2 separate regions of the Homo sapiens genome follow, and region 1 is linked to region 2. The links are contacts of gene promoters, found by promoter capture Hi-C in human tissues and cell types (Jung and others, 2019). All regions are on one chromosome and are shown on one strand. The core of a region is centred on a gene start or on the middle of the fragment in contact, and the rest is flanking DNA. Distances in the headings are between cores, read along the strand shown. Region 1 has its middle 43 kb from the start of GABPA. Region 2 holds the start of JAM2 (junctional adhesion molecule 2).

The links. The method cuts DNA at HindIII sites, captures the fragments that hold promoters and counts their contacts. A contact is called where the count stands out against the background at its distance.
Region 1: a fragment that was not itself captured here is called in contact with the fragment with the promoter of JAM2 in region 2 in 2 of the 25 tissues and cell types used here (lymphoblastoid cells and thymus).

The regions. Positions count from the first base shown.
Region 1 is chr21:25,774,915-25,781,314 of GRCh38, forward strand. No RefSeq gene overlaps it. Among named protein-coding and RNA genes, the nearest start is that of GABPA, 43 kb to the left of the region's middle. The HindIII fragment of the contact is 3,438 bases long and covers 818-4,255 here.
Region 2 is chr21:25,636,526-25,642,381 of GRCh38, forward strand. JAM2 (junctional adhesion molecule 2) reads left to right here and starts at 2,733. Exons shown (of 10, transcript NM_021219.4): 1 at 2,733-3,363. The coding sequence starts at 3,297. RefSeq lists enhancers at 2,366-2,505, 3,243-3,743, 3,646-3,715 and a silencer at 2,726-2,915. The HindIII fragment of the contact is 5,846 bases long and covers 1-3,734 here.

The DNA of each region.
Region 1 (6,400 bases), core at 1,287-3,786, 140 kb after region 2:
TCATACCTGTAAATACAGTGCTTTGGAAAGCTGAGGCAGGAAGATTACTTGAGGCCATGAGTTTTGAGACCAGCCTGGGCAACATAGCAAGACCCTATCTCTACAAAAATATAAAAGTTAAAATAAAATTAGCTGGGCATGGTTGTGTACGGCTGTAGTTCCAGCTACTCAGAAGGCTGAGGAGGGAGGATTGCTTGAGCCCAGGTTAAAATTCGAGGTTCAAGTGCAGGTTGAGTTTGAGGTTACAGTGAGGTATGATTCTGCCGCTACAACAGCACTCCAGTCTGGGGGTGACAGAGTGAGACGCTGTATCTAATAAAAAAAAAAAAAGACAGTAAATTGGACTTCATCAAAAATTTTTAAAACACCTGTTATTTGAAAGATACTATTAAAATAAAAGGCAAGGCTGGGTGTAGTGACACATGCCTGTAATTTCATTGCTTTGGGAGGCTGACTGGGGAGGACTGCTTGAACCCAGGAGTTTGAGACCAGCCTGGGCAACATCGTGAGACCCCCTCTCTATGAAAAAAAAAAATTTAATTAGCCAACCTTGGTAGCATGGACCTGTAGTTCTGGCTACTCAGAAGCCTGAGGCAGGAACACTGTTTGAGTCCAGGAGTTTGAGGTTATAATAAGCTATGATCATACCAGTGCACTCTAGCCTGGGTGAGAGAGCAAGACCCTGTCTCAAAAAAAAAAAAAAAAAAAAGAAAAGAAAATTAAATAAAGGACAAGGTACAGATTGGAAGAAAATATTTGCAATACACTTATCTTACCTAGGTTACAAAGGTAAGATAAGTGTATTGACCACACTGATTTATAATATTTTGTCATTAAGCAATGAGCATCAGTTGTAACTGAATGATTATGGCAATATTAATATCTTACAAAGGTAAGATATTTAATATCAAAATATATGATAAATTCTTTTAACTCACTAAGATAATCAAATAATTTATGGTCAAAGGATTTGTACAGACACTTCATAAAAAAAGATATACATATGGCCAGTAAGCATATGAAAAGCTATTTGGCATTATTAGTTATCACGAAATACCAAGTCACAATCCAGTACCACTAAAAACACATTACAACTGCTAAAAGTTAAAAGACTCACAATACCAACTGTTCTCAATGACATGGACCAAATGAAGTCACACACATTGCTAGTGGAAATGTAAAATGGCACACTACTTTGGAAAAGTTAAACACTTTTGTCACGACACAGCAATTCTAATCCTAGGCATTTATTTTATGTATTTATTTTTTTGAGACAGAGCTTCACTCTTGTCACCCAGGCTAGAGTGCAATGGTGCGATCTCGGCTCACTGCAACCTCCACCTCCCAGGTTCAAGTGATTCTCCTGCCTCAGCCTCCCAAGTACCTGGGATTACAGGCACCAGCCATCAAGTCCGGGTAATTTTTGTATTTTTAGTGGAGACAGAGTTTTGCCACGTTGGCCGGGCTAGTCTCGAACTCCCGACCTCAGGTGATCTGCCCGCCTAGGCCTCCCAAAGTGCTGGCATTACAGGTATGAGCCACCGTGGCTGGCCCAATCCTAGACATTTATTTAAGAGAAATAAAATATGTTCACTGAAAGACTTGTACACGAATGTTTATAACAGCTTTATTCATAATGTCTCCAAACTGTTAACACAAATATCCATCAGCAGGTGACTGAATAAACAAATTATGAATACCCATAGAACAGAAGTACGACTCAGCAATAAAAGGGAGTGAACAACTGCCTCATCAACAACTCTGGAAAAGGCAAATCTCATTGTAAGGATAGAAAGCAGATCACTGGTTGCCTAGGGCTAGGGATAATGGTTGATTTCCTGGATTAGGCATAAAGAAATTTGGGAGGATGATGAGCATAGCCTATATTATGCTTTGTTGACGATTACATGGATGAACAGATTTGTCAAAACTCATCTAAATGTATACTTAAAATAGGTGCATGGGGTTATGTAAATTTCACCTCAATAAGCTTAAAAACTGAATTACTAGAGAAATGAAATTTAAAAGACAAAAATACATAACCACTTTTTAAAAATTATTAGATTCCACAAGCATAAGATTGCTATATCAAATTATCAAAATTGTTTTAATGCTTGCTCTTATCTCCCTGTGGACTGATGACAAACAGTTCACGGACTGACCACACTGATCTACAACATTTCATCAACTGATGAGCATCAGTTTTAACTGAACGATTATGGCAATGTTAATGGTATTTGAAAATTTCTCTGTAAACCTTTTTTTTTTTTTTTTTTGAGACTGAGAGTCTCACTCTGTTACCCAGGCTGGAGCGCAGTGGCTTGATCTTGGCTCACTGCAACCTCCACTTCCTGAGTTTAAGCGATTCTCCTGCCTCAGCCTCCCCAGTACCTGAGATTATAGGCCTGCATCACCACGCCCAGCTAATTTTTGTAGTTTTAGTAGAGACAGGGTTTCACCATGTTGGCCAGGCTGGTCTTGAACTCCTGAGCTCAAGTGATCTGCCTGCCTGAGCCTCCCAAAGTGCTGGGATTACAGGCATGAGCCACCATGCCCGGCTGTAATGTGAGAAAAGCATTTTCTCATGTCTGCTAACAAGATAGTTGATTTGGGAATCTTATTTCCATGATACTAGTAACACCCAGTTAGCACCTATGCTATTTTTATAGGTAACACCACAGTAACTAGACATGAATGAAATAGAACACTGAAGAAAAAGTTATTTATCATATCTATGAGCAACTCTTTAATTCACTTCCTTAGAAAACTATGCAAAAAGGTTTGCTCTAATACTCACAGTACGAATAGAGAAAGTAAGCTTCCTATCTCTAATGTTGGTTTTACTTTGTGAATGAGAGGGCATATTGCATATTAATACACTGATAAACATCACTGAATAGTTGAACTAGAATGTTCATTTGACTTAATGGTTAAAGGAAAAAGCTATGCATTAAGAACTCCATACTAGGATTCTTGTCTCCAGCTCTCAAATCATAAAAATAGAGGATTTTTGTTTGTTTTTGAGACAGAGTCACTCTGTTGCCCAGGCTGCAGTGCAGTGGCACGATCTCGGCTCACTGCAACCTTCACCTTCCAGGTTCAAGCAATTCTCCTGCCTCAGTCTTCCATGTAGCTGGGATTACAGGTGTGAGCTACCACATCTGGCTAATTTTTGTATTTTATAGAGATGAGGTTTCACCATGTTGGCCAGGCTGGTCTCGAACTCCTGACCTCAAGTGATCTGGCCAACTTGGCCTCCCAAAGTGCTGGCGAGAGGTAACAGCCTGCTAGCAGCCCTCGCAGCCCTCACTCGCTCTCGGAGCCTCCTCGGCCTTGGCGCCCACTCTCGCCGCGCTTGAGGAGCCCTTCAGCCCGCCGCTGCACTGTGGGAGTCCCTTTCTGGGCTGGCCAAGGCCGGAGCCGGCTCCCTCAGCTTGCGGGGAAGCGTGGAGGGAGAGGCGCGGGCGGGAACCCGGGCTGCCCGCGGCGCTTGCGGGCCAGCGCGAGTTCCGGGTGGGCGTGGGCTCCGCGGGCCCGCACTCAGAGCGGCCTGCCGCCCCAGGCAGTGAGGGGCTTAGCACCTGGGCCAGCAGCTGCTGTGCTAGATTTCTCGTGCGGGCCTTAGCTGCCTCCCCGGGGGCAGGGCTCGGGACCTGCAGCCTGCCATGCCTGAGCCTCCCCCCTCTCTCTCTGTGGGCTCCTGCGCGGCCCGAGCCTCCCTGACGAGCGCCGCCCCCTGCTCCACGGCGCCCAGGCCCATCGACCGCACGAGGGCTGAGGAGTGCTTGCGCAGGGCGTGGGACTGGCAGGCAGCTCCACCTGCAGCCGGTGCGGGATCCACTGGGTGAAGCCAGCTGGGCTCCTGAGTCTGGTGGGGACTTGGCTAATCTTTATGTCTAGCTAAGGGATTGTAAATACACCAATCAGCACTCTGTATCTAGCTCAAGGTTTGTAAATGCACCAATCAGCACTCTGTGTCTAGCTCAGGATTTGTAAATATACCAATCCACACTCTGTATCTAGCTAATGTAGTAGGGACTTGGAGAACTTTTGTGTCTAGCTCAGGGTTCCTAAACGCACCAATCAGCACCCTGTCAAAATGGACCAATCAGCTCTCTGTAAAACAGACCAATCAGCTCTCTGTAAAATGGACCAATTAGCAGGATGTGGGTGGGGCCAGATAAGAGAATAAAAGCAGGCTGCCCGAATGAGCAGTAGCAACTCGCTGTGGTCCGCTTCTGTAGTGTGAGGAGGTGTGTTCTTTCCGTCTTTGCAATAAGTGTTGCTGTTGCTCACTCTGGGTCCAGCTGCGTTTATGAGCTGTAACACTCACCGCTAAGGTCCGCAGATTCACTCTTGAAGCCAGTGAGACCACAAACCCACCAGGAGGAACGAACAACTCCAGCTGCGCCACCTTAAGAGCTGTAACACTCACTGAAGGTTTGCAGCTTCACTCCTGAGCCAGCGTAGACCATGAACACACCGGAAGGAAGAAACTCGGAACACATCCGAACATCAGAAGGAACAAACTCCGGACACGCCGCCTTTAAGAACTGTAACACCGCCAGGGTCCACGGCTTCATGCTTGAAGTTGGTAAGACCAAGAACCCACCAATTCCGGACACGTTTTGGCGACCACGAAGGGACTTTTGCCTGTCGCTGAGCGGTGAGACCATCGCCTATCGCCAAGCAGTGAGTACCATTGGACCCCTTTTGCTTGCTATTCTGTCCTATTTTTCCTTAGAATTCGGGGGCTAAATACTGGGCACCTGTCAGCCAGTTAAAAGTGACCGGCAAGTGATCTGGCCACCTTGGCCTCCCAAAGTGCTGGGATTACAGGCGTGAGCAACCGCGCCGGGCGTAAAAGTAGAGGATATTTTAAATAGAATTAAGTGTGAGAATCTGCCCTGTTGGCATAAAATATATTAGCTAATTGATTAAACAAAGAATACCTAGAATAAAGGTATAAACAAATAACCTTCCATTGTGGAGGATATGTAAAGTGGCGTGCCAAAGGAAAGAACTAGAAGAAACAGATTATGGTCCTTTTCCCACTAACCAGATACGAAACTTACAGCTAGTTGTTTCACCTTTGTTCACCTCCATTTTCTCTCTCCTGTGTTGGGGTCGTTGACACATTTGCCTGCAGTGCAGGGCCATTGGAAGGGTTAAATGAACTCAGTATGTAATTCATCTTGCAGGCTCCTAAATAAGTGTAAAGGTCTAGGAAAGAAAAGCCTCCCTCCAAAGAATCCAGTGTTCTAGGTTGAAATTGGTGCTCCTCTCGCGTAATGGTGAAAATCACAAAGTAGCGTAAAAAACATGTTGAATGAATGAGTAAGGAATAAGAGCTAATTCTGATCTCTTACGATATGTCAAGTCGTTTATGTGCCTTCTCACTTATTTCTCACAACTCCTTGAAGTAGATAACTGTCCGTTTTATAAATGGAGAGATTGAGGCATAGAGGGATTAGTCAACTTGGCTGAAGTCACTTGCATAAGGGCCAACCCAGGCTTGAAGCCCTGCGTGGGCTTTTCATTAGGATCAAGTCTGTCTCAACAGAATATAGCTGTTAATACCTACAGTCAATGAAAGGGAGGTGTGTTTAACACGTCTAAAAAATGAGAATTGCAAACATTGAGTATTTTTTTCATTTTTCCTGGCTTGTACTTGTCTTACCCAAAGTGAGAAGCTTATACCAAATTTTACTTTAAGTAGTATTCATCTCTAATAAGTCAACGGAGTTTTATTAAACATTATCATACAGCCAACCCTTAGTAAAATAATGGCTCTAGGCAATCATCACCAACAGCTGCTAAAACCACTAGCTGAAAAGTTAGACGCTTTGTAAAGGATGGATTTGCCTCACAATCCCTGAATACATATATCAATCTTAGTATCACCAAAAGCGAGACAACCAGGGCCGGGCGCAGTGGCTCTGTAATTCCAGCACTTGGGAGGCCGAGGCGGGCGGATCACAAGGTCAGGAGATCGAGACCATACTGGCTAACACGGTGAAACCCTGTCTCTATTTTAAAAACACAAAAAATTACCCGGGAGTGGTGGCGGGCGCCTGTAGTCCCAGCTACTGGGGAGGCTGAGGCAGGAGAATGGCGTGAACCCGGGAGGCGGAGCTTGCAGTGAGCCAAGACAGAGCTACTGCCCTCCAGCCTGGGCGACAGAGTGAGACTCCATCTCAAAAAAAAAAAAAAAAAAAAAAAGGCCAACCAGATAATCATATGCCTCCTAATATGACGCATTGGGACAACTCTTGCCAAAACATAAACTGAACCTAAATCTGATAAATTCCTCAGATGTAAGTACCAGTTCATAGGAAATATAGGACACAGAGAGACTGTCATTTACATGGATAGAATCAACAAAAATATAAAAGAAAAT
Region 2 (5,856 bases), core at 1,483-3,982:
ATTTCTTTAGTCAATCCTGAGGGTTTCCTGTTCTCTAGAGCACTCATTCTAACAGTCTACTGGTCACCCCAGCTATATTTCTCTCTCTCAACTCATCCCAAACCTGCAGGAATTATGTATGCCCTCTATGTTTCTTATTCCTTTAATGACACTATTTATAACCTCCACATACAGCCACCTATGCTAGAAATCTGATACCTACATGTTCTCTCCTTTCTCACCCCTACATCTAGCTGATAACATAATCCTGTTGACCATGTTTGTGAAATATCATCTGAATCCACCCGGTTTTTCATTTATCACACGGTGACCATTTACTTCACAACTTGGTCTCTTTCTCAGGATATTGTAATAGTTTAGACTTGACTAACACCCTGATTCTCTTTTCTGTAATCCATCCTGCACATTTCAATATGAGTCATCATTCTAGAGCAGCACTCTCTTGTAGAACTTCCTGCAATGATGGAAATACATTTTCCAATATGGTAGCCCCTACCCTCATGTGACTATTGAGAAATTCATATGTGATCAGTGTCAGTGGAGAACTGCATTTTACATATAATTGAATTCAAATTTATATAGCCAGCCAGGCATGGTGGCTCACACCTGTAATTCCAGCACTTTGGGAGGCCAAGGCGTGTGGATCATCTGAGGTCAGAAGTTCGAGACCAGCCTGGCAAACATGGCGAAACCCCATCTCTACAAAAAATACAAAAATTAGCCTGCATGGTGGCACATGCCTGTAGTCCCATCTACTGGACTGAGGAGGCTGAGGCAGGAGAATCACTTGAACCTGGGAGGCGGAGGTTGCAGTGAGCTGAGATTGCACCACTGTACTCCAGCCTGTGTGACAAAGTGAGACTCTGTCTCAAATTAAAAACAAAACAAAAAAAATGTATATAGCCACTTAGATCTATAGGCTACCATATTGGACACCACAGTTCTAAAATATGAGTCTTTTCTTATCTCATTGCTTTCAAAAAGCTCATTAGCTGTAGGATGAGGTCTAGACAGTAGCGTGAATGCTCTTCGTACTCTAACCTCCCCTTCAGTTTCTACCACCACCACCACCTACCTCACTATCCCGATCCCACATACACTTTAGTACTGTAGAACCTTGCTTTTTCTAAATAAACCATAATTTTTCAATCTCCTAGCTCTGGATCCTGCTGTTTCCTCTATGTAGAATGCCTCTCCTTTATGTCCTTCCCTTCAGAATTTGACCCATTTTTCAAGGTTTAATAAAGAAAGCCCTGGCCCCACTCCCAACAAAAGGAACAGCCCCTTATCATGGACCTTGGACAAGCCATTTAGTGTCTCTCCGCCCAGTTTTCTCATCTGCAAAGTGGGAATGATAACATTTCCTCTTTTATGGAGTTGTTGGGGGATTAGATATTGCGTTATTCAGACTCCATCACTGAGAAAGCATGCAATAAAAATAGCTGTTATTATTTTCTGTCCTCCTGTAACATTTACCATGTGGTATCAGGCATCTTTCCTGATAAGACTCTGTCTCCCCTCAAGACTGTGAGCTTGTTAGCAAGAAAGCCTCTATCTTGTTCATGGTTGTCCTTCAGCATCCAGCACATTGTTGCCATTTGTCAAATGCCTTGGCTGGGTGGCAAATAAATAACTTAGTCAGTTACTCACATAGGATTGCATAGAATTTTTTTAAGTATGACATTTTTGTGTATATTTTTAGGGAGGAGTAAAAGACATATAGCTGTAGCAAGAATTAGAAAAAAGAAGATGCCAACAACTTTTCTTTTTAAGCATCAAATCCTTCTCATTACTGCCCAGAAAAACTGGCATAAGCTGTTGTTAAATCTGTGCCCCTTCTCCTCGGTTGACTGGAGTACGAGTTTTAACATTTTGCCATTTTGACTTTCCTTTCTGGGTCCCCTGGGTCCTCTCCTCCCACCCCCTCCCTGGGTACTAAGTTTTCATCACTGTCACCACGGCAACAGCAAGGATGCCTCATTCCTCACAGTTCTGCACAGCTAAACTCTGGTCGCCTTTGTCCACTGAGCTAGCTGAATTCTTTTTAAATACACCACTAAATCAACTATCTGCTGTACAGAACTTCATCCATTATTCAACCTTTAAAAAAAAACAAAAACAAAAACAAACAAAAAAACAAAAGAAAAAAACTGATGTATACTAATTTCTTCTCCTGGGAATGGCCTTTTTCCAGACCTGCCAATACTCTTGAATACACCATACATTTTTGGTCCCTAGGAACAAATATAAAAATTGCCAGTGTACGTGCGTCCAATGTAAGTGTGGTGCAATTTTAAAGCACGCAACAGAGCATTCATAATGGGTTTCCCTTTTAAAAGCACAGTAGACCAAAAATAAACCTGACAAAGGGCAGCTGTAGAGTTTTAACACGTGGAAAACTCCACAAGCAGCAGTTATGTAACTTGAAAGAAACATGATAAATATTTCACACCATTAGATGAACTTCCAACTCTGACACTGAAAAAAAAGCAAAGAACAAGAACGCGAGACAAATGCACCTCAAATCTCCAAGGAGCAAAAAGCTTAAACTGAGAAGGGACCAAGGCTGTACTAAAATCTGAGACCTGACTTCCAGCACGAGTCTTGATTGCTTTTTTTTTTCTCGAGTTCGAGGCGGAGCCCGCGAACCCCATCTCCTCAGAGCGCCACCCCCTCAGCTTCGCCCGTTGGGCAGAATTTTCCAAATATCTCCACCCCTAGGCTGAAAAGCCAGAAAGAAGTTTTGAGCCAACGAGGGGAAGAAAGGAGTTGGGGCAAAACAGGAGGCGTTTCCCTACCCGCATACATCCCCGTCCCCGAGACACCCAATCCCCCCACCCCCAGCCTGCCCGCGCCTCCCGCCCCCAGCTCCTCGCCCTGGGGACAGCTGGCAGCCCCGCGCGGACCAGACACAAAGCCGATCAATCCCGGAGGCGTGGGGGCGGAGGGACGACCCGCCGGGGCTTTCCCGGGCGCTGCTCTCCTCCTGCTGCCCCCTCGCTAGGACCCGGCGGACGCCTCGTCTGGTTTTCACGCCCTCTAGCCCCTACCCCCACACCCCCAAAACAGAACAGACCCCCATCCCTGGGCTGGAGGACCCGCCTCTTGGCAGCCAGCTGAGAAGGCGCCCCGGGGAGGGGGAAACTGACATCCCATCTAGAGCCGTCCCTCCTCTTCCTCCCCTCCCGACTCTCTGCTCCTTTCCCGCCCCAGAAGTTCAAGGGCCCCCGGCCTCCTGCGCTCCTGCCGCCGGGACCCTCGACCTCCTCAGAGCAGCCGGCTGCCGCCCCGGGAAGATGGCGAGGAGGAGCCGCCACCGCCTCCTCCTGCTGCTGCTGCGCTACCTGGTGGTCGCCCTGGGCTGTAAGTTGCTCGGGTTCCTCTACCCTTCCTGCCTGGACCAGCCTGCCCCCACCCTCCAGCCCCCCACGGGGCGCTGGCTGACAGTGTCTGGGCGGCTCTGGGCCGAGGTCGCCGCGGGGCGTCTGACCTTGCGCCCAGGCGAGCGGGAAACCCAGGGTGCCCGCGAGCGGACGCTGGGAGCAAGGGAGCGCGAGGTCGTGGGTTTCTTGTGAATTGCGTCTGATTTTGTCAGTTCTAGATACAGAAAATTAAGGGTTCCCACTAGCAGGTTCTCATCTGTTTGCAAAGTTGGGGTAAGTTTTCAGACAGAGGGACGTGATTCGAATGCAAAACTCACTACCCACTGGTAAGATGCTAAGACCCCAAGAAAGATGGCATCACTGGGAGGCGGGCGCCGGCCACACTTTGAGTCCCCGGGGAGGGGGCAGCGTCCGCGTGGTCTGGGCTCTGTAGCGTCCCAGCTGAGCCGGCGATATGCAGCGCACTTGTGGGGCGGAGGTGGAGGGAATTCGTGGCTGCTGAGCCAGAATTACTTTTATCCTCTCCACCTGCACATCTACATTCACTTAGAGAAGTCTGGTCTGGGGACTCTAGCCAGCTGCTCTGTCCTCAGGGGACATCCAACGGGACGATTGTTAGAAAGATTCAGAAGCCACATGATCCAGTAGCTGGGGAGACGTCCCAAAGCCAATTTCACCGGATGATTTTAAACAGGATTTTCACGGATTCTGGACTCATGAGATTTGAAATCCTGGGAACGTTGCCGTTATTTTGTTTTCTTCGCGTTAACTTTTTAGGAAAATGGAGGAAATTACAATAGACTAAGCAATGCAGTTCTACTTTTGCTTTTTCTTTTTTCTCTCACCTTTTTTGTTTTGCTTTTTTCCCTTCCTTCCTTCCTCCCTTCCTTTCTCTTTCTTCTTTCTTTCTCTCTCTCTTTCTTTCTGTCTCTCTTTCTTTCTTTTGTAAAATGAGTTATTGTTGCTATTCACGTTCTGGTAAAGTAACACTTATAATACTTAACCTGCGGGACGAGTGTCTAATACCACAATACAATGATATTTTCTCACGCCCTCGCTGCCCAAGTGATCATCGCACAGCTCAAGTGATGTGAGCCACGTCCCTTTGTGGAGGAGGAAGGTGCACATTGTCTCAGGCAAGGGACATGTACTGACCAATATTATATAAAGTCAAACCAGAAAGCCAAAGTTTCACAATGAAACCCTTGTGCAATTCTGAAATATCAATTGGTATCATATGGAACACACAGAAGAAAAAAAATGCACTCATGCTAAAAGGCAACAGAGAGGTAGGCTGGAGAAATCGTTAACAGAACAACTGAGAAAGTTATGTATTCTGCTGAAATTCTAAATTTCAAATAGAAAAGAGTGTGCCTTTTAGTGTAGAATTGTCACTAATTAAAAACAGAAAATCGTTCTGCTGTGCTATTCCTATTGAATCACCAACATAGAAACAATACACCCCAAGTCTGAAATTGTAGTGGAGAAACAACCAAGAGGCGAACAAAAGCATAAATGAATGGGGCTGAGTGACCTCTTCAAGCTTTAGGTAAATATAACACATTGTCTCTGCTAAACTTGATTCCTATAGGGGATGTATTTGGAAGTGTTGTGGGGACTTTTCTATATTGTTCCTGGGATACTAAAAGATCTGGCATTGCAAGAGTGTTTTCTTTGTATGTGGGTGTTTTTTTTTTTATGTTTAAAACAATTTTAGAACAGTTTGGATTTAAATAAAAATTCCAACGCTAGTATAGAGAGTTCTCATATACTCCACACCCAGTTTCCCACATTGTTAATATCTTACATTAGTATGGTACACTTTATTCAAATTTCCTTCATTCTTACCTAATGCCTTTTCTATTCCAGGATGCCATCCAGGCTACCATATTACATTTAGTTGTCCTGATTCCTTAGGTTCTTCTTGGTTGTAACAGTTTCTTAGGCTTCCCTTGCTTTCTCTTACTATAATGGGTTTGAGGAGTTCTGGTCAAGTATCTGGTAGAATGACTGCGAATTGCTGTTTCTCTGATATTTTTCTCATAACTAGACTGGGGTTATAGGTTTTTTGGAGGAAGATCAGAAAGTGGTAAGGGGCCTAGGTAAAGTGACATTTTCATCACATTATCTCCAGGGAACATACCGTACACATGACTTATTGCTGTTGATGTGAACCTAGGTCACCTGTAATCATACTCCTAATGTAGTGCATACCAGTTTTCTCCACAGATTACCTACCCTTTTTTCTTCATTTCCATACTAGATTTTTTTGGAAGGAAGTCACTACATGCAACCCACACTTCTTCAGGAAGGAGAGTTATGCTCCATCTCCTTGAAGGCGGAGTATCTTCATAAATTATTTGGAGCTCTTCTGCATGGGAGATGGGTCTCTCCCTTCCCTTCATTTATTTATTTAATCATTTATTTTTCTATCAGTATGGGCTCATAAATATTTGTTTTATACTTTGGGTTA